5 separate regions of the Homo sapiens genome follow, and all the other regions are linked to region 3. The links are contacts of gene promoters, found by promoter capture Hi-C in blood cells and fetal thymus (Javierre and others, 2016). All regions are on one chromosome and are shown on one strand. The core of a region is centred on a gene start or on the middle of the fragment in contact, and the rest is flanking DNA. Distances in the headings are between cores, read along the strand shown.

Region 1 (4,346 bases), core at 17-2,516, 4.1 Mb after region 3:
ACCCTACTAAGGAGTCTTGGGGATTGGCAGGGGTTCTGAGATCATACTTTGACAACACCTTGTATAGTTATCAAAATGTCAGTTTTGCGCAGACTGCCTTAACTTTATACATGTTGAAAGTGGTTGTTGTTACCATTCTTATCATAATCCTTGCTTGTGTTTTCCAGTCCTTTAGCAATGCATTTGAGTGCTGTCATTACACACATACAACAAGCAACAGCAGTCTCTACTTGTAGTTTTTATGAAACCAGAATTTTAATGAGTAATGGCAGATATTGAGAAAAAGGTGAACAAGGCTCATGGGAGGTAACACAGAGCAGGAGGAAAAAATTTACTATAAATCCTTTTGTCTATTTTCACCATATTCATTTCGAAACTCTATCCTGTTCAGTTGCTAAAACCAAATAAAGTCAAAGGGCTAGCGTATCTATTTTATTAGAATAGATTACGCAATGCTTTTATGGCTTTGCCTTACAAGCAATCCTAATATTTGTATACAGTAAAGCCATTCTTTTTAAATATAATGCCTTCTATTGCATCAGCATTACATACAATGCCTATAAACATTATCTTATACAAAGCCAGGAATAACACACAAGAAATTTTCCTTAGAAGATTGGTGTAGTAATATTTATCTTTCAATGAAATGACTGAAACAATAGAATTAGAAATCTTTATAAAACAAGTGTTCATTTATATTGTTATGTGATATATAACCAAATCTGTAGTATGATCTTAAGGACAGGGTAATAAAAGGAAAGTTAATCAAGTTTCAACTAATATAAATTGATTATTCTACAAAATAACAGATTAGATTTTAAACTGAAAAATACTCCAAAGAAAAATAAGTACTTTTCAAAACAACAAATCAAAGAAATGAGCTTCTGTATGTTTCTTACTAACAGATTGCTCATTGATTAGTATATACATTTCCAAACACATTTTTCTGCATGGAAAGGAAGGAAGCCTCCACGACCCTTGCTATATACCCCATCAAGTAAGTCCAAGTGTAAAATGTTTTTTGAAATCAGCAGGCATTCTTTGCTTCAAATAATTCTGAAGGGATTTAGAAGCCAGATAGGATTAAGGCTTGGAATAAGGGGAAAAAATTCAGCTCAATCTTAACTGTAAATAAAAGAAAACATGGTGAGAGGGCAGAATGGAAACTTTACTTAGATCCAACAATTGCTACAGTGGTAAATCTGGCTTATTTAGAATTAATGTGGAAAACAGGCCCTAGTACAGAGTCACTAATCAAAGTATGCAAGAAGGAACTAGTGAAAAATATCTTTAAAACTAAAATTGAGCATCCTCATAGAGTCGGGGGCTTTGAAAAAATTCTTAAATCAAGTATTTTTAACCCACATCAATGTGATACTTGATGTTTTTCCCTAATTTGAGACATCTTCCCTCTTGCCTGAATTACTACAATTTCCTCTTAACTGATCTCCTTGCTGCTGCCTCCACTTTCCTATGGGATCCTTTTAAAGGGTAGATGATGACCTCCTCTGCTCAGAACCCTCCAATCGTTTCCCATCTTGCTCAGGGTGAAAGCCCAAGTCCTTGCAGTGGCTGACAGAGTCCTTTCCCATTTGGCTCTATCTGACCTCTTCTCCTACTGCTCGCTGCTTCGGCAATCTGCTCCAGCCATGCTGGTATCTTTGTTGTTCCTCCAATACTCTAGGCACAGTTCCTCTCTCAGGGATAGAGAATTTTCATAGGGTGGAGACTCTCCCCCAACCCAAAACACTGCAGCTCCTACCCTATTCAGTGTTCCTCCATTCACTTATCACCATCTAACACAATTTCATTTATTTATTTTGTTTTTATCTTTCATCACAAGAACATAAGCTCCAAGAGGGCAAAGATTTGGGTTTGTTTGTTCATTGCATGTCCCTGATGCTTTATTAAAGCAGGATTTGAAACACAGTTGCTGCTTAATTAACATTTGTTGAATGAACAGATGTAATTTCTGTCTATATTTTGTCAGATAAGCAACTACCTTCATTTTAGGTATGCATGTACACCTCACTATTATTCTTTAAATGAGCACGGAAGTTTTGCTTTTGAAATTCTTGCTTGGTTTTGTCAGATAGTGTTGACTAAGCTGAGGATTGTCACAGAAGTGGTCTCTATCTGGAAAGACCTAGACTAGAAAGAGAAGATGCTGTTGCCTCTCCCATTATCCTTTTATTCTTCCCCACTCCCTATCTTTCCTGTCTCTGTGAATGCACTGCTGAAGACCTAAGAAATCAAACTGGACGTCCACTCTCTGTACTCCATTTTGACTTGCTCTCCACTTCTGGGTGATCACTATCTATCATCACCCAATTCCATAGACTGGGTCATGCCTCAGGTTTTCCTTTGGTTTAGTGAACTTAATTACATACTGTCTTATCATCTTAAATCTCTGGAGAAGTAGGCACGAAAACAAGCAGGATGCAGGTTCTGGGGGAATTCACCTGCACTGATTTGCCTATGTGACAGTAGTGATTATAAGAGACATGGGAAACAAAGCATTTCAAATTATAGTCTACTTAAATATAAAGATGTAACTGTTCCTTTCTACATGTACCAACCACCTAGCTAAAGAGTATAAGGATAGTATTTGTGAGGCTAGTTTTCATCGTGTCTGCATGGATGAAGACTTGAAGATGGTTGTTTTCAAGTCATGTTTAAGATCCATGAATTAATTACTAGCATTTATAAACAGCTTTGGATTCCTGAAGTATATCTGACTCTTCTTTTGTCCACATTATGGCAAAGCCATGATTACAATAATCATTATGTTTAAAAATCACAGGATTAAAGGCAGCTAGAGAGGTCATGTGGTACACCTGCTAGCAGAACATATCCAAATCATCCAGTCTGTTTTTTTCCAACACTTCGAGAGAAGAGACACAATAATTTTCTCTCTACATAGGTTATTTGAAGATCAGAGATGTGGGAGTTTTTTTTTTTTTTAAGTTTCACTCCATAATCCAATTTTAACTTCATCTGAGATTACTTAAAGTATTTCCTTATTGTCCAACAGTTCTTTCTAGTTCTGCTTCTGAAAAGTAGAAGCTGGATAGAAAAGGCTGCTATAAGGATAGAAATAGGAATAATAGGAAGGAGGAGAGAGTAAAAGAGCAGGGTTGAAAGAAATCAGAAAGAGGAAAATCAAGAAGACGTGTAAAAAGAATTCAATGTTTTGTTACCCTTTCATTTTTTGATTTATAAGAGAATTGATCTGGTTCTTTTCTCCAGACATTTGCCGCCTGAATACAAAGTACAAACAGACTCAGGAATGACTAAGAGATGGATGGTTAACTATAGGTTAGCTCCAGAATAAACAAGTCCAGTTACTTAGAAATAAAATGTGTTAATTCTTAATATAATAAAAGCATGTAGTAATAAAAATTCAGTCTATATAGAAAGTTCTAAGAGGAAAAGGCAAAATTTCCTGCCTACTCCCCTGCCATGTCTAGTCCTTTTCAGCCACTGTTAAAATTCCTTGAGTGACTTTCCAGATAGAAAAATTAAGTGCATCTCTCTGCATATATGTGTGTGTGAATGTGTATGTGTATATGTGTGTCGGTGGGGTACGGGGGGTAGGATGAGGGATGCTTATTTGAAATTTTATTCCATAGAAATAATATCATACCTCCTATTTTTTCTTCCTAAAATAGACTAAAATACATTTTAAAGATCTTTCTACACGCTTCAGTCATTCAAGCTCCATAAGTAAGGGGAATTTGTCTTTTTAAGCACTGTTTTTCTTCAACAGAAACTTATTAGGTAAATGAATGAATAAATCAGCAAATGCCAGATTAACTTCACTCTTCTGAAACCAAGTATAACATTATATTGTTTTAATGTACCGGAAGTATCAGTCAACTACTGATAAACATTTAAAATATTTTCAGATTTTGGCTATTACTGTGCAAACATTCCTGAACATATCTGTTAAATCTTGCACATATGTGTCTGTAAGTAAATCTAAGGTAATTACTTAGCAATGTAATAGTTCAGTCAGTTGCATTTAAAATTTTGATAGATATTGCCTAACAGGTTGCATCAATTTACACTCTCACTTCAGTACAACTTCTACTCTAGGGCAACTCACAAAAACTAAACGTTAGTGACTAAAACACATATTCCTAGAAATGACATATTCTTTCATCTATAGCGTTTTAACAGAAACTGTGTCAGGTGAAATCTTGAAACACTAAAAATCCTTTGGCTCTGCTGAGCACTGGGGACATCCTTTTTCTCAAAGACAAAATGCTTGTTCCTACTGGCCGGCTTTTTGGAACTTGGCCAAAATTCACGCTAACTGCTTCTTTTGTATATTCTAATAATAA
Region 2 (4,193 bases), core at 1,625-4,124, 4.2 Mb before region 3:
TTGGTCAAGTACGATGAGCACAGCCCTTTCCCAAATTCAAACGCCTTAAGGTAAACTACCTTCTCTCACTCAAGGGTGAGGCACAGTAAAATGTGTAGCAGAAGATCTGCAGTAGGACCTGTTGTCATCCCCAGTCTCCACTCCTACTTTTTATTTTGTGTTACTGAGGTGGAAGGATAGAATAAGAAAGCAAGAGTGGTGAAAAAGGATACAACCACATTAAAACAAAAGGAAAAATAAAATGAAGGCATTCAAACTACTTGTACAAAAATAATTACTAAAAACATTTCCATTGTTTGTTTAGGTATGCAACTTAATAATAAATGAATTTCAGAATTGTTTTTGAAAAAGGAATACTTTTGAATTCCCTGGAGACTGGCAATTTTAATATATGCTATTGGGAATACATTTGCAAAGTGCAGAATCTTTCATAAAAAAATTTATTCCCCAATCACCTTCTGTGATCATGGCATATACAGATTCTTATTGAACCCACTTAAACAGAGATATAAAGATCCACAGAATGAATGAACAAGAGTTGAGACTGAGAGGTTGGCAAAAATAACATGGAAGAAGTCAAGCATCCTCAAAACAGATCATCTGGTTTATCTTGAGTGTGTGAGGCACAGGACAACTACTGACATGTGCCCTCTCTGGAGCCTGTGAAGGGTGGGCTACTTCCTCCTGCAAAACAAAACCTGCCTTTCTTCTCAGTGTAGCTAACTCTGCCAGTTCAGAGCCTGTCCCTCTCATCTCATTCTGAGTGCCTACATGCCTGTAGCCGCCTCTCACAGCCAAAGGTGGGGAAGATGGCCCAGAGCTGATGTGGATGTCAGCCGAGGTATGTGTGTGTGCCAGACACCCCTGCAGCCCCCGGGGTGGAGAGATGAAAAACCAGCCCTGGCTTCCCCTTCAGAAACACATCTACCTGGCAAGGTAGCCAACTGGCACAGGTTCCTCCAAAGAGAGGGAGGCAGGCACAGGGCAAAACTAAAAACACAGAGGCCTTGAGAAAGCATACCTGTGCACACCATGACCAACAGGAAAACAAACCCTACCTTTCCCAAGGAAGGGGAGGAGAGGGCCATGGTGGGGAAGAAAACAGTAGACCAGGGGAGATGAGGCAACATCATTAAGCACCGCAGGCATGTCTGCCTTGAACTCACTGCTTGCCATGTAGAGAAAAAGAAAAGGCTTAGCTAATATATGGCCCCGGGTGACTTCATTTCATTCTATGGTGTTTAGATTTTTCCCCCACTTTGTCTTTTTGTGATAAGGAAAAGGGGGGTACCTAGGAACAGGCAGAGCTCACAAAGTTGGGCTTGAAGACGGCTTGCTCAAGAGGCCAGGTTCCCAGGACTGAGAAGCTGTCTTAGTAGCCTCATTGAGCAAAATACCCTGGGGTCTAGTGCTTCAGTGCAGTGTTAAAGGGAGCGAAATGAATGGATGTTTCCGAAAATTTCAGTATCACAGCTGGCCAGCTAGCCAATGACATCAGTCTTTCAATCTAGTGGCACTGAGCACGTGGGTTATTAAAAACACTTGACCACACAAGGATGATCTGGTATCTACAAGGCACAGTACTAGGTTACCCAACAACTGGTCTATGCACTTGCTTAAATTCTCAGTAAAGCTGGGATTTCCATGAAAAAATTTTTCAAAAGATTTTTTAAAGAAAGTATGGTGGTAGACATTAAGGGAAAATTTCAGATCTTGTTTAGAACTTATTTTATAAGCACTTTTATGCCTCTTATTGTTTTTATTTTTATCACCACCACTTTTTTGTGCTGAAGGTTTTTAAAGGTTTTATTTTGGTCCTGGCTGGGTAAAAGGAACGTATTGTAAGATTTAGGCCTTTCTTTGGTTTCACCAGCACACGTCATACTAGTATTGAGACAGGTCTTCAAGAGCAACCTTCCAGATGCTTATGGGGCTTTGGAGAGAGTTACAAAGAGAAGGGGGATGGGGAACCAAACCCAACAACTCCTAGAGGTTGTGAAGTGAGGCTACAGAATAGTTTGCTGCTGAACAGCATGGTCACCAGATGTGGGAAAATACCTTCCAATAGTGCAATTAAAGACCAAGCATTCTCATCATCTACTTGAATTTATGTCAGAGGACCACTTTCTCCAACTTTTTTTGAATGGGTAAAACCTTTGATCCTTATTCCAAACTGAGGGAGAAAACAAGATTGTCCTTTTTATTTATTTGCTAAAAATTACAACAGAATTCAACTGAAATAAAATGATCTTAAATACTTCAGTGTAAACTGTTCCATATATATAGCAATATTCATAAGGTTATCCCCCACATATTTTCACCATAATCAGTAACAATAGAATTCTGAAAGACTGAATAACAGAAGTGACATGACCGGATGGAAGGCATGAAGAATAAAATTTGAATACTGCTTCTTGTGAAGAGAATGAGTATTTCCCCATTTACAAGCTCTGATTAATCTCTATAGTTTTGTTCGAAGGTCACTCTGCCAAGTCCTCAATTATTTGCACAATTGATGACTTTTTCCATTCTCAATGGACTGCCTTCTTTCAGTTACCCAAAGACTATTCCCAGCTTTCATGTGCCATATGACTCTGCAGTAATGATGGATTTGGGGCCATCGTTTCTCTTATAACTTCATAATTCTATAACTTTATATATAATTTATAGCAAATACATATTCTGAGATATTTATAAAAAAATGATTTGAGTACATACAAAAACCAGAGGGAGAAAAGTTTATTTTGAGATATGGAATTTGGTAAGGCAAAAGACAAGCTTGAGCTTTTACTGAGAGTTGAAGTATAAACATTTTGGAGTTCCCCTAAGATGTCTAGACCAGTGTAACAGTCGTCTTTGATTAGGGCAATGACTTCTAGTCTTAAATTTGTGACACCCCAGGGTGTCTGCAGATATCTCCCGAGGTGTTGTAAAATTCCCTCCACAAAATGCCAAGTAAAATAAGCTTTAATTTATTTAAAAAGTATACCACACATGTTTAGACACAGGGGAGGGTGTCCTGGAATCAAGAGAACAGTCGTAAGTATTTCAAAAGCTTGAGTCTTGTCAATTACATTAAAAAACTAAACCAATTTTTTTGGATACAATAAATGCAAGAAATAAAGTAAGATGAGATGGTCTATGTGTGTGGTTTTGTGGTTGGAAAAGACACGGAAGGAGGTGGTTAGTCGGGACACTATTTTAGTGGAAAAGTGACTTTACTTACTAATGGCTGAATTAGCACTGACTGCCAATTAGAAACCTAGTTCATAGGTCCTCTCTACCTGCTTGCACTAAACACTGGTGCCTTGAAGTTGGTGTCAAAGATCTCTGTACAGTATTAGTTTCTTTAAAACAAACGAACACAGACCACATAAACTGGCAGCTAGTCATGGTAAGCTAAATTTTGTCAGTGTTTCTCTTAGCTTCTGACTGAAACTGTTAACCTGAGGCCCTGAGATTACACACAGGTTACATATTGCTGCTCTGCAATATCCAATTATTAACCTCCTCGGTCATCAAGAGGTTAGTAACTAAACCACCACTGTGGGTTTACCACTGGGAAGTTGGCTTATTGCCATTATGTTTTACTATAGCTTCCAAATCTCCAATAAAATATGTTTCCTGATACGTCACTGCCTCAGGCCTCACAGCTTTCTTTATTCAGAACACCCACTTCAATCATCTGATAAATCTGAACATGGATTTCTTCAAGAGTCACACACATATGCACTCAAAAAAAGACATCACTGAAAAAAGCATCCTTTTTTTACTAAACAGGTCTGCCTTTTCCCTGGAGAACTCAATTTCACTGTTTACTTTTTATTCTTTATATCACTGTCTATTTAAAATTAGAACCACGTTTACATTCCAATAAGAAATTCCTTACTAGATAATTTTTATTTAACCCTTTATCAACTGTTAATTGCTTTTCAAAAGAAGTTCCTTTTAAACTAGGCCCTTTATAGCACATTTCAAAAGTTATCTGAAGAATCAAACATCTTTTGAAAGTTGAGTAGGGAGAGGGAAAAAAGAAGGTATACTTGCCTTATTTGTAGCAGTAGCACTGGATCCAGGGACCACAGGTACGTTTGTCACTTGAACTGAAAGATAATTATTATCTATGAGTGGCCAGGCCCCTTCTACTTTGCATGTTTGGAAGTTATCCTTGAAAGTTCTGAGGTGAGGATCTC
Region 3 (4,525 bases), core at 1,494-3,993:
CGGAGTGATTAAGAAACTACTTCAAGGGTACACAGCTAGTAAATGGTAAAAACAAGATGCACATATAAGTCTTTCTGCAAAAACTGTATGCCTTTTCTACAATACCAAGGTGAATTAAATTGCAGAACTTAGTCTAATACTTTTAACCACATTATAATTTCATAAAGCAATCTACTTTCAGCTAACACAAAAGAAAGATACATTAAGTGAAAGAACAGTACAAGGGTGGGAAGACATTTAGAACAGCAATATCACTGAAAAAATTTAAACATAATTATAAATTATTTTCAGTAAAATAACAGTGCCTAAAATTTCAAAGCATTTCTAGAAACAATCTAAAGAGTGCTCTTTTTGTCTAATGAGAAACAAAGTTTTCATTATTTTCCTCTCAAAAGTGATTTGGTATCAATCATTAGAGTGATTCATATGAGAAAGTCTTTCTTCCTCCTCAAAAATAACCAGACAGTGTATTTTAAATTTCAAAGTAATTTTGATAGAAAGTATGAATTAAGTGAACTTAAAAGTTCCAGGGTTATTTTACTTTTAAGCAGTAACATGCCCTTATAAGGTGAAAAACAGTACATAGTACATTATACAGATATATTTTCTATTAGTATATTCAAAGAGTCAACTACAAGAGTAACAGATGATGTCTCATTTTAGTTACATTCTTGAGAGAATTCGTTTTGTTTAGGGTTTATTATTCAAAGCCAACACAGAATTTTTTATTTTACTTTCTAAAAAAGTTTTATTTAAATGGTGAAAACCCTACTTTAGGGTAATATAATCAAGATACATATAATAAGGAAAGTACTAATAAATAAAAGCTATACTATTGGTTTCCCAAAACGCAATGTTTTTGAACATCAGTGGAAAATGTGGATGCTTATTACGAAATCTTCAGTTCTGAATTTTGATTATGAAAAGTAACCACATTTGATCATCTTTTCAATGACTTTCACGTGATCCACGCTTTATGCTTTAGGGAAGCAAGAAAATGTTAGGTTATATAATTCAATTTTACTTAATAACGCATAATAAAATCTGGATTTAGAAAACAGAATAGGGGTTTATTTGCAGTACTGAAGGTTCGCTGTCTTTACAATAAAATTGACTTAAACATTCAAGTATTTGAACATCCTAGTTCCTTTAAATTAAGAATACTCAAGAGTTACCCGGTGGCTCACGCCTGTAATCCCAGCACTTTGGGAGGCCGAGGCGAGCGGAACACTTGAGATCAGGAGTTCGAGACCAGCCTGGACAGCATGGTGAAACCCTGTCTCTATTAAAAATACAAAACATTAGTCGGGCGTGGTGTCGCGCACCTGTAATCCCAGCTACTCGGGAGGCTGAGATAGGAGAATTGCTTGAACCTGGGAGCCGGAGGTTGCAGTGAGCCGATAGGCACTGCACTCCAGCCTGGGCAACAGAGCAAGGCTCTGTCAAAGAAAGAAAGAAAGCAAAGGAAGGAAGGAAAGGTAAGAAAAGAAAATAAAGAAATATACTCTTTAATATAAATTCACCTCATACTAGCAACTTAGGTATTGAACACCTGCAATATACGTAATCAAACTTTCCAATAATGAGAACATCTTGCACATCCACAGGTATTTCCAAGAATTGAGGCACAACGGAATAACATAAACCAAAAAGTCCACAAGGTGCATTGTCTGTCACACATACATTGTAAATTCAGTTCAAATGTTCATTCCCAATATTTCAACAACAACAACAAAATTTTTTAATAAAGTCATTCGTCAAAAAAGAGGCTGGCGCCTCCAAAATCAAGCTCCATCTAACTCCTGAGTCAAATAATGATATGAAGTACCCGAGACGGACCAATTTTTTTTTTGTCAATATTTAATCTGAGGCTTTGGAAGTGGAAGAAATCTTAAAATAGCCACTCAGTCTTGTTTCCAGCCTTCAGGCAGCTGAAATATAAACCCCAGGAACACAGACCCTCCCTTCAGCGAAAAGTGTATGTGTGTATGTTTGTGTTTAAAGGCCTATAGCAGTCAGAGATAGGATCACTGCCGTTTTAGCAGTTTAAAAAAAAAAAATTCTACTAGAGAGGAAAGAATGACACAATTTTCTTCGTCACAGGAAAGTGGGCCTGGGGTATCCCAGCCACCTTCGCAGACGCTAAGTTATGGAAAGCAGCCAAAATTCTGGTATCAGGATGAGGCGTCCCCATGGGTTCTATGGAAACGAGAGACGCGGGGGGCCTAGCGCCTTCCAGGCGGCGGGCCGAGCGGCAGAGCTGCGCAAGCAGAAGCGGGGGAAGTGGCTCAGCCCAGTACTGCAGAGGGGCGCTCGGTGGCAGTCCCCGCAGCGGCACGGGCGAAGCGTCGCGGGGTCTGCAGCTGCAGCCCACCAACTCCGGCGCCGAGCGCGAAGTCGGGAGAGCTGGAACGAACTGCAGCTGGAGAAAGCGCGAGAGCCAGACACCGCTGCCGCTCACCCCAGCCGCTTCCTTCCTAGCCTCACAGCCGGGAGGCAGAAACTTCGGAGGTACCGCCCGGCGAAGAAACATCCCCACAGAGACAGAATACACTGTGTCTTCCTAGCTGAGCCCCTTTACCTTCCCGGTGTCTGGGATGCTTCCTTCGGTGGCAGCGGCGGCAGGGGCGACGACTGCCGCTGCAGCACTCAACTGCTTCACGAATCCGGGCTCTGGGAAACAATTTCCCGCCGCGCGCTAGGCAGCCCCGGAAGCGATAGTACCATTTCCGGGTGGTTGTCAGTGACGCTCCGGAGCCGTCGCCAGGGTGGTAATACCTGGTGCAGAGCTTGAGTCTGGCCAGCGGGTCAGGCTCTTGCTAGATCAGCACCGGAGGTGGAAGACTGGTAAGTGATTTTACTGGGTTTTCTCCTGCGCCTGATATTAATGGCTGGCCGGGGCTCTGTGCAGCATTATGGCCAGCCCGAGAAGTGAGTGGGCGAGGGTGGAACCAGAAGGAGTCCCCATCAAACCCCGTGGCGCTTGACACCCAGTGCAGCTGGAGAAGGCCCTGGGATCCCGGCTTACCGTCTTATCCACTCGCAAAATCTGTCTCCGACTTGGAACTCGACCTCGGGTCACCAAGTGTCCCTGGGCGAGGCCGAAGACACCGTGTACCGTGACTCGGCGTTGTGCCGAGTTTCTCTACCAATGATCAACGAGTTTCCTATCTCCCATTGGCAGCGTTTGGCCACTCTTGATTCCTGAGTACTGTTTCCGTAGTTCTGGGGTGCCGTGCCTGGAAGGCAGGAGGTTGGCTGAAGAAGACATCTTTTACAAACATTTAGGAAGTGAGATGGGGAGGTTCCTTCCTGATTTAGAATTAATTGAAGGTTCCTCCCGCCATTTGAATTGGATGAGAAGAACGGTCTTTGTTTTCATGGCTGAGACATAAGAGAACAAGCTTGTAATTTCATGCTTGGGCATTAGATGCATTTTTGGAAAGCAGTGATCAGTAAGTATGTGTGCTTTCAGAAAGGAATGCTTGCGTTCTGCTCCAGGCTTTGTCGATAATGAAGGATTCAGGAGAATTTTGGATGGAGGTCTGAGGTAGCCAGAATAGTTGTAAAGAGAAATTGCTTCCGACAAAGGGATAATGTGAGGAAAGGTGCTCATTTAAGATTTGAAAGATGTGATGTAGTGAACCTTGGCGACTTCTCTTAAGTAATGCAATTTCTTAGGTAACTAGTTTTCACTTGCCACCTTATATTTAGATAATTACCTCCCCACCAACCCCCGTAAAAGGCAGCTGACTGTTATTTTTTCAAAACAGTCAGTTCCCGAAAGAGTTGTAGGTACTATTGCATTTTTTTTATGGGTATGCTCCTCATACCCATAAAAACATTTTCTTTATCGGAGCATACCGATAAAGAAAAATGCAATATGTTCAATTCAAGGCCCCTGTTAACACCAGGCCAGTGTCTTCTTAACCTTTTGAGAGTAATGCAACAAACCATATTTAGGACAGCACATTGATTTTCTGGCCTTGTTGGTTAATAATTCAACAAACTTATAATCGCCCCATTAATCCCAATCTTGACATTTTGTTGAATCTTGTATTTTTTCTTTATTTCTCCAGTTGAAAGTATTATAAATTACTTCAGGGATATTATGTATTATATCTGTACAGCAACTAGTTTTTAGAGGCAGTGATTTCTCTCTTTGAATTGCTCTTGAATGTAGCCAATCATTAATACTTACCCCAAGTAGATACTGTCTGCCAGGCACTTTACATTTATTATTTTATTTAATGTTTAATAAAAAAAGAAAATCACAAAAATTGTATTATTTCTATTTTGCAAAACATTTTATACTGAGACCCAAAGAGGTTGTGATTTTCCATAAATTATACAATTAAATGGCACAATTAAAATTTGAATCCAGTCTACCTGACTCTAAATTTTGGCTCTTTTTACTGTGCTCTATACCTTTATAAGTAAACATAACAGTATCATTATTTTCACTCCAGGTAAAAATGGATAGATAGTATGTCACATTTAGAAATCAAGTGGATAGCAAAACTTG
Region 4 (4,636 bases), core at 639-3,138, 3.2 Mb after region 3:
ACTCTCATTTCATATCCACCGTGTACGCGACGGAATCTAGACCATAGAAAATGTTCAGACAGTGATTTCAAATTAATCTATCACTTCCTACCTGCTTCTGCCCTTTGCTATCATATATAGCAATATTTTGGTCATTAATCCATATTAATTAAAGATCAGAGAAGGTGGATAGTTTTAATTATTTTTACAATGTACATGTATTATTTTGTAATTCAGAAAAATTAAACTTTAAAAAGAATTAGTATTTTATTCAATGTCTCCCTCTTCATACCAACTCATGCTTTATTTGCATAAGCTCAGTACCCACACACAAAATCTACAAATGCTGAGCATCTGTTGGTTTTGCCAGTGTTGCTTCCATTCTCCTTCTTCTGTAAACGGCATCTCTGTTTTCCTTTGAGGAACTTCCCAAACTCCATTTCATATAGTCTTTTTTGGGGTTTTTTGTTTGTGTTTGTTTTTGTTTTTGTTTTTTGAGATGGAGTCTCACCCTGTCACCCAGACTGCAATGCAGTGGCATGAGCTCAGCTCACTGCAACCTCCACCTCCCAGGTTCAAGTGATTCTCATGCCTCAGCCTCTGAATGGCTGGGATTACAGGTGTGCACCACTATGACCAGCTAATTTTTGTATTTTTTTAGTAGAGACCGGGTTTCACCATGTTGGCCAGGCTGGTCTCGAACTCCTGACCCCAAGTGATCCACCTGCCTTAGCCTCCCAAAGTGCTGAGATTACAGGCGTGAGCCACCGCACCCAGCCAATTTCATATAGTCTTGATAGAATAGTCAATCTCCTGCCCAAGGGGGTGGGCACAAAATCTAAGCAAGATCATTTAAATCTTAACCTTTCTTCTCAGTATTTGAACCCTAAGCAGTAACAAGAATGAACAAATAGTAGAACTAATTTTTCCCAGTAGTGATACTGAAGGTGTCCATTACTTTCTAAAACCCTGGACACCAAAGCTGCAATAGTTTCTATATCGCTGAAGCATGATTTTTTCTTCAGACTGAGTTTTAAATCTGTGAGCTACCTGATATATTTATAACAAACTCCACTTCCCAACCTCCACTTCACCCTTAAGTTAGAGTTGGTTTCTGATTGTTTAAGACTAAACCACACAAAAACCTTTGGGATAGGACATGACCCATCTACTGTCCTTCTTCCAGATTCCATCTCTCTTTACTTTCCTAATACTTTACAGAACTCTTCAATATTTCAACATCCATTTCCTTCAATTCAAGCTCTCCCTAGTCAATATCCTCAACTTACTTGTCCTAGGTATTTCTACTTAACTGTTTGCCTAATAAAAAACTGCCTTTTCCACTACCAGCCCTGGGGGCTGCTGGAGAAAACCTGACAGTCATTAGGGTTGGTGTCTGAATTCATTTTCAGTTTCTATTCTCAGTTAGGTTTTCCATAGTGATCAGAAGCCTTTCTGGTTTCCTGCTCATTTCACTTCTCATTCTCCACAGGATTTTCAGAATTCTCTTCAATCTCCTTAATCTCCAACTAGATCACTCCTTTTCAGCAATGTCTGCACAAATAAAGTAAAAGCCATGGGATGGAAATTCACTCTTCTTCCGGCCAGAAGACTCTCAAACCAAGTTGTATTCAAGCCATTCTTCTCTCCCACTCTGAATTTAAGTGGGAATGCAGTCTTCTCTTGCACTTAAGACTAATCCTCAGAATTGTGCACCAGACCCTATCCCTTTCTTCCTTCTGAGAGAAGTGGCTTTATCGATTACTTCTGTCTCTTCTGTATCTTTAACCTCACTCTCTAGATTGGCTCCAAGGCGATTACAGGTAAATATGATGAATGCCATACTTTTTCATCAAAAACTCCTGAAGGAGTCTCCTTTTAGCTACTGCTTTATTATTCTTTTCTCATTCTCTACTAAATTAAAGTAGTATCTGCCCAGCATGTAAAGGATGGTGATAGAGACAAGGAGCCAGCCAAGGGTCCCCCGGCAAAACCCCACTTTCAAGCCTAAAACAGCCTGAGGCTGAAAAACTGGACTGCCGGTCCCAGAGACTCTCTGACTGGCCTGTGCATTGGGAGGATGGAGTGGAGCCTTAGGACAAGGAGTCTGGCCTCTGCTGTTCCTGGGTGGTAACCTGGGATTCAATCAGTGAGGTGGAGAGCCTGTTGGCAGAACCCAACGAATTCCATTCCTCACCCTTCTGTGTATCTGTGAGCCTAATCTTTCCTGGTCATGTGACAAGAACCAATATTTTTCCTACAACAGTGGGGCACAGGAAAAGGGGGAGTGGGAGCAGTGTGTAAGCAAAGCCCACCTGATACAGGGTTCAGAAGGCACCACACAAAGGCCAGTCCAGCATGGAGAGGTCCAGCCTGGTTAGGGTGAGGATACATCCACTAGAGGGGCAGTCTGAAACAGGGTGGCAGAGCCTAGGTAGGGAAAGAGGGCATCCACATTCAAGGGAGGATGACAGTGGAAACAGGAGATTGATCACATGCAGGGGGGATTGATCAAATAAGTCAATATGACAAGTCCAATGGGAGCCTGGTTTCTCAGTGTCAAAAAGAAGGTTACCTATATGGAAAGGGAGAAAATTAGAACAAACCCTGAGGTGTTTGATTAGAATTTATGGTATCAATGTACACTCATGGTTTTACAGATAGAGACAGACAGACAGAAATATAGATGCAATTTGCAACTGTGTGTCTATACATTCATATGTACATCTATATATATGATAGCTCTCTCCACTGGGGACAACCTCAAAGTACACCACACTCTAAAAGCAAGGTGTATACCTAGTGCTCCTTCAAAGACTCAGGGCTAACTTGGAGAAATGGCTGATTCCAGGGCTAGGCAGCGGAATTGCAAGATGAGCTTGTTAAGTACAAGAAGTACAGGAGAAGTACAAGATGAGCTTGTTTCATATGCCAGAAAAAAAGAAGGTAGTCGAAATATGATGGAGACATGTCATAAGCCACTTTGAAGGGATTTCTACTAGCTAAATTGGGCACAATTTGAAGATCAAGATAAATAACAATAAATTAAGGCTCATATGAATCAATGGTCATATAAATAAACAAACAAATAGAAAGTTTGATAAGAAATAGGATACTTGCAAAGTTTCAAAAAACTTCCATACAAAATACTTACAAATTCCCTAGGGTCAGGGTGGGGAACCAAGTAGTTGAGAATTCAGACAGACACATCTTTATTCAAATGATCATTAGTAATGGGACAAACCAAAATTGTACATTATCTGACAGGAATCAATGAGGAGAAAACAGCATCACTTCTGAAGTGTTCCTATCAAAATCGAATCATTCAGCCTTTTTCAGCTGAACCCTAACACATAGTGACTATTTGCTCAACTCTCTCAAGAATGGTACATAATTAATGCCATTCTAAATGTGTTTTTAAAACTTAATTATTTCATCCAATACATGCTGTGGTAGTTAATTGTATCTGTCAACTTGACTGGGCCCCAGGATGCCCAGATATCTAGCTAAAGGTTATCTGGTTGTGTCTGTGAGGGTGTTTCTGGAAGAGATTAGCATTTGGATTGGTGGACTGAGTAAAGCAGATGGGCCTCCCCAGTGTAGGTGGGCATTATGTAATCCCCTGAGGGCCTGAAGAGAACAAAAAGATGGAGGATGTTTCAATCTGCTTTCTGATTGTTTGCGCTGGTATGTGGATCTATTCCTCCCCTCACCACTCCTAAGTCTTAAGACTTATTCTGAATTCAGACTTGTATTAGGTTGGTGCAAAACTAATTGCGATTTTTGCTATTACTTTTAATTAAAAGTAAATTAGTTTTACTAATTAGTTTTGCACCAACCTAATACTAAATTACACCACAAGCTTCCTGGATTTCCAGCTTGCAGACAGCAGATCATGGGACTTCTCAGCCTCCATAACGTCATGAGCCATTTATTTGTTATTTTTTAACAAATAAATTAATTAATTCCGTTTTTTCTGGAGAACTCACTAATACAGATTTCTTAGGGTGTTAAGCCTTAATTCTCACCCAGAACCATGGTTGAAAAAAAAAACAGGTTGAACTGTACACAGAGGTACAATCTATAAAATATCTGGTCTTCAAAAGGGTCAAGATCATTAAAGACCAGGAAAAGTTACATTGCTGCTCCCAACAGAAGGAGACTAAAAAGGCCTGAAAACTATATGTAACAGGTGATTCTAAACTGGATCCTTTTGCCCTAAAGGAGAGTATTGAGACAACCAACAAAACTTGATTGGGACTTCAGTATTAGATGGTAGTAATGTCTAATGTTAATGACTTGATTTCCATGGTTGCACTATGGCTATGAAGGCATAGTCTTTACTGGCAGTGAGGCATCATACTGGCAACTTACTTTCAAATGGTCCAGGAAAAAAAGTCTTCTGTACTGTACCTGCAAATTTTCTGTATATTTTGTATTGTTTCAAAATTTAAAAAATAAAAAATGAACAAATATAAAACTGAAATTCATCCTCCTCCTCCTTCCCCATGTTCCACATCTCAGCGAGGAACTCCACCATTTAGCAAGTTGCCTAGGCCAGAAATCCAGTGTCATCCTTGATTACTCTTCCCTCTAACATTCAATTAACACCCTTCCTCTATACCCATATTCAATTACACACCAAGATATGATGATT
Region 5 (4,279 bases), core at 860-3,359, 3.2 Mb after region 3:
TAATTTTTTCTATTTATTTTCTAATACATACAATTTCTATTAGATGCTAAAAGTGTTCTGCCACTTGTTACAGATTTTGTCATTACATTTTTACTTGGACATTTCTGTCTTGCTTATTAAGTCAGTCATTTCTGGCTTGATTTGAGGCTTCCTGGCTGTCCAAGGAGGCATTTTAAAAAGAATGACAATCTAAGTATAGTTCACTTTTAAGCAATTTGTGGGAAAATTCTGCCTCCTTTTAAAAAGCACTAAAGATAATTTACAACTTTTAAAACCCTAAAATATGTTCAGGGTGTGATTTAACTAAAAGTTATTTGGCTTTTTTCCTTCAAAAATGTGTTTTACCTAAAGCTTCTGAGGCAATTTGGGTTGTTCCACATTTAGATGCAAGTGGATGGGGTCTCGTCCAAAAGCTCTTTCAGTAAAAAATATATTAAACCCAACAATTTGCTTTTCTATGACCATTCTCTTTGTACTTGAGAAGCAACTTTTCATTAAAAATATGTGCATATAAAAGTCACTCTGAAGATAAAGAAGGTGGGAGGAAACCTCTTGAGTGTTTTGGGTTCAGCAGTTTTATTTCCTGATACACTGCGTTTTTGGCCCTCTGTGGGATTTTACACCCATGAGTTATTACCTCACATAAGCACATTGTTCATGTGAGTAAACAAATTGTTTGCACATTGTATAAACAAAGAGCATTGTTTATACGATTTCATTTTTCCAAAGTCAGAGGAAGCGATGAGTTAACTTTTTTGTAGAAGGATGAAAGGGGTGCTTTACAAAAGAAGATGATTGCTATGAAGATATTCTACGTTGTGTATTTAGGTCTTAATTAAGTACTACTAAAGTACTGAGTAAAAGTCTTCATTCACTGATAAAATTTTACTGTTAATTTTTGTGAAATAGGGGACTATTCAGACATGCCTTTATAAAGCTTGTTAATCTAGTAATTAAATATCAGGTACTGTAGGTACCAACACCCTTTCCTCCCCACATAGCATTTCACGTATGAAAAGAGAATAATTGGATATAATATGCTAACAAGCTGTGTTTGCTCTCTGATTACATTTCTTGACTAGTATTCAGAATTGTAGTCATTTGCTACATTCTTCCTAGACCTCATGAAATAACTCTGTAAACTTTTTTTCTCATTTCTTTCTAGATTGATCCAAATCCTGATCAGTCAGCAGATGATAGACCATCCTGCCCCTCTCGTTGAAGGAACACTTGGTTGAATCAAGTTGATGTGGGTTCCGAACTGTATCTCTTCCGGCTGAGGACAGAGAAGTATCTTGGAGACACGTTTCAGAGGAAGTGGAATTACTTTTGCCCAGAAAAATGGCGAATACATGAAACAACCAGTGATCATGCTTTAGAAGCCTACAGCAACATTCTGAGACTGCTCCAACATGCTTGAAGATCTAAGCTTTTCTCTTTTAAAACTGGCACATACTCAGAGCAGTCTTCTTAGCCTATGGTCGTACGTGTCAAGACATCACGTTGTAAAGAGGGATGATTTCCTTCTTTTGATTTGAAAATTTGCACATGCTCAATGCTTACATTGTGCGGTTCGACGTCACTACAGCTTCTTTTTTTTTTTTTTTTTTTTTCTATTTTTGCCAGACTCTTGATACTCTTAAAACTTGTTTGTGGTCAGCACAACAAGGAACAAAACAAAGCTTTGAAAAAACTTTAACATGAAAAAACGCACTGACATTTTTTTTTATTTAATATAGCCTGGACTTTACCTGCGTATGCACATGCTCAGAATTGTCTACTAGGCTGACTATGTATCACCTCTTCAGCTTGGATCCAATTGTGGATTTATTTACAAACATCAAATGCCTTCAAGCCAATCCTTTTTGCTGTATGTTTTGCAGCCTACTGTAGTAGATACGCAACAGATAATGTGGGAAAAAAAGAGATAAGAGGAGGAAGCTAATAAGAGACTGTCAAGATTGTATACCTTCTTGGTTTCTTTTAAGAATTTGTTGCCTTTCTACTATTACAGCAAAGCAGCATTTTGTTACTGACTGCCTAAAATCACTTAATCTCAGGTGAACGCATCACTTGCCAAACTGTTGGAATGCTATTTGTGTTTTGTTGCACTGTTTTTTTCGTTTGTTTGTTTGTTTATTTGGTTGGCTTTTTGGAGAGGGAAATTTGGAAACGGGACATACACAAAAGTTACACACCCACATTCCCTTTTTATCATGACATACAAGAAGAAACTAGCAGAGCTAAGAATGGAGTGAAGAAAGGCAGTATGGCAGGCACCAGCAAAGAGTTGAGGGCTGTTGCTCTTAAAAATTATTTTTTTTATTATTATTTTGAAAGTATGGAAGTTTTCCATTCACTGGGGAAAGGAGGGAAAAGTGCATTTATTTTTATACAGAGTTACTTAATTACCTCCAAAACACATATGTTGGAAATCGCTTTTGCTGGTGCAAAGTATATTAATGAGCAGGAATACATACATTGAGGTTATGAATAGAGAGCTCAATTTGTACCTTTGCTGTCTTGCTCAAGCTTGGTATGGCATGAAAACTCGACTTTATTCCAAAAGTAACTTCAAAATTTAAAATACTAGAACGTTTGCTGCGATAAATCTTTTGGATTTTTGTGTTTTTCTAATGAGAATACTGTTTTTCATTACCTAAAGAACAATTTGCTAAACATGAGAAATCACTCACTTTGATTATGTATAGATTACATAGGAAGAACAATCACATCAGTAAGTTATAGTTTATATTAAAGGTAATTTTCTGTTGGCTCATAACAAATATACCAGCATTCATGATAGCATTTCAGCATTTTCCAAGGTACCAAGTGTACTTATTTTGTTGTTGTTGTTGTTGTTGTATTTTAGAAGGAATTCAGCTCTGATGTTTTTAAAGAAAACCAGCATCTCTGATGTTGCAACATACGTGTAAAATGGGTGTTACATCTATCCTGCCATTTAACCCCACAGTTAATAAAGTGGCTGAAAATAATAGTAGCTCTGGCTTGGTGCTTGACCTGGTTAAATACTGTCTTAAAGCTCATACAAAACAAATAGGCTTTTCCATAAGTGGCCTTTAAGAAAACATGGAAGACAATTCATGTTTGACAAATGCTGACAGGGTGAAGAAAGCCCAGTGTAAAAATGAATCGCGTTTTAAGTGATTCGGTTAAAGAGTTTGGGCTCCCGTAGCAAACTAATACTAGATAATAAGGAAATGGGGGTGAAATATTTTTTTATTGTTGAATCATTTTGTGAATGTCCCCCTCAAAAAAAGCTAATGGAATATTTGGCATAAAGGGCATTTGGTGGTTTTATTTTTGTTTGAGGGGGATTGTCAGAAAATCCCTTTTCTCTCTTACGTCTAACTGACTAGGGAACAATTGTTGATATGCATAGCATTGGAATACTTGTCATTATATACTCTTACAAATAACACATGAAGCAAGAATGACCAATATTCTGATAATTGGCACTGGATCACAAAATGTGATAAAACTTTAAATGTATAAAACTTTATCAAATAAAGTTTTATTTTCCCCTTTAAAATGTATTTCTTTAGAGGCATTACTTTTTTAAAAATATTGGTCAATTCCTGACATAAGATGTGAGGTTCACAGTTGTATTCCAGTATTCAAGATAGATTCCTGATTTTTCAATTAGGAAAAGTAAAATCCAAAATGTTAGCAAAACAAAGTGCAATATTAAATGTTTGCTTTATAGATTATATTCTATGGCTGTTTGTAATTTCTCTTTTTTTCCTTTTTTATTTGGTGCTGAATATGTCCTTGTAGGCTCTGTTTTAAGAAAACAATATGTGGGAAATGATTTAATTTTTCCTATTGCTCTTCCTTGTGGAAAATAAAGTGTTTTGTTTTTTTCTGTTTTGTATAATTGTTTGGAGATTTATTTGAATCTTGATCATATTAGTAACTCACCATACATGCAAACACATTAAATTAAACTATTAAACTCTATTTTAAGCCATTCTGGGTAAGAATTGTATCTAGGTCTGTACTAAAGAAAATTACTGACCAACTCCTAGGCTAAAGTAGTCCTCCTGTCTCAACCTCCGAAGTAGCTAGGACTACAGGTGCACACCACCACACCCACCTAATTTTCTAATTTTTTTGTAGTCGTGGTCTCACTATGTTACCCAAGCTGATCTCAAACTCGGGCCTCAAGCGATCCTCCCAACTTGGCTTCACAAAGCACTGGGATTACAGGCGTGAGACACCATGTCCAGACTCTAAATTTCAATCTTAAATATGAAGC

The links. The method cuts DNA at HindIII sites, captures the fragments that hold promoters and counts their contacts. A CHiCAGO score of 5 or more calls a contact.
Region 1: a contact is called between a fragment that was not itself captured here and the fragment with the promoter of KIAA0825 in region 3, in 1 of 17 cell types (non-activated CD4 T cells). The highest score is 6.6, in non-activated CD4 T cells.
Region 2: a fragment that was not itself captured here is called in contact with the fragment with the promoter of KIAA0825 in region 3 in 1 of 17 cell types (total B cells); the score reaches 5.1 in total B cells.
Region 4: a fragment that was not itself captured here is called in contact with the fragment with the promoter of KIAA0825 in region 3 in 1 of 17 cell types (total CD8 T cells); the score reaches 5.0 in total CD8 T cells.
Region 5: a contact is called between a fragment that was not itself captured here and the fragment with the promoter of KIAA0825 in region 3, in 1 of 17 cell types (non-activated CD4 T cells). The highest score is 5.8, in non-activated CD4 T cells.

Annotation. Positions count from the first base shown.
Region 1 is chr5:90,531,237-90,535,582 of GRCh38, reverse strand. No RefSeq gene overlaps it. Among named protein-coding and RNA genes, the nearest start is that of LYSMD3, 3.8 kb to the right of the region's middle. The HindIII fragment of the contact is 7,271 bases long and covers 1-4,346 here.
Region 2 is chr5:98,779,943-98,784,135 of GRCh38, reverse strand. RGMB (repulsive guidance molecule BMP co-receptor b) reads right to left here. Exons shown (of 3, transcript NM_001366508.1): 2 at 4,048-4,193. Among named protein-coding and RNA genes, the nearest start is that of RGMB, 8.4 kb to the right of the region's middle. RefSeq lists an enhancer at 3,823-4,193. The HindIII fragment of the contact is 187 bases long and covers 2,781-2,967 here.
Region 3 is chr5:94,616,822-94,621,346 of GRCh38, reverse strand. KIAA0825 reads left to right here and starts at 2,743. Exons shown (of 21, transcript NM_001145678.3): 1 at 2,743-2,847. It overlaps SLF1 (SMC5/6 complex localization factor 1), which reads right to left and starts at 2,678. Exons shown (of 21, transcript NM_032290.4): 1 at 2,582-2,678. RefSeq lists enhancers at 1,957-2,066, 2,457-2,636, 2,947-3,126, 2,865-3,729. The HindIII fragment of the contact is 3,766 bases long and covers 1-3,406 here.
Region 4 is chr5:91,394,726-91,399,361 of GRCh38, reverse strand. The region is part of intron 1 of ARRDC3-AS1 (ARRDC3 antisense RNA 1); the gene reads right to left. Among named protein-coding and RNA genes, the nearest start is that of ARRDC3, 14 kb to the right of the region's middle. The HindIII fragment of the contact is 3,910 bases long and covers 1-3,843 here.
Region 5 is chr5:91,368,343-91,372,621 of GRCh38, reverse strand. It overlaps ARRDC3 (arrestin domain containing 3), which reads left to right. Exons shown (of 8, transcript NM_020801.4): 8 at 1,166-3,991. The coding sequence ends at 1,222. Among named protein-coding and RNA genes, the nearest start is that of ARRDC3-AS1, 9.9 kb to the left of the region's middle. The HindIII fragment of the contact is 850 bases long and covers 1,685-2,534 here.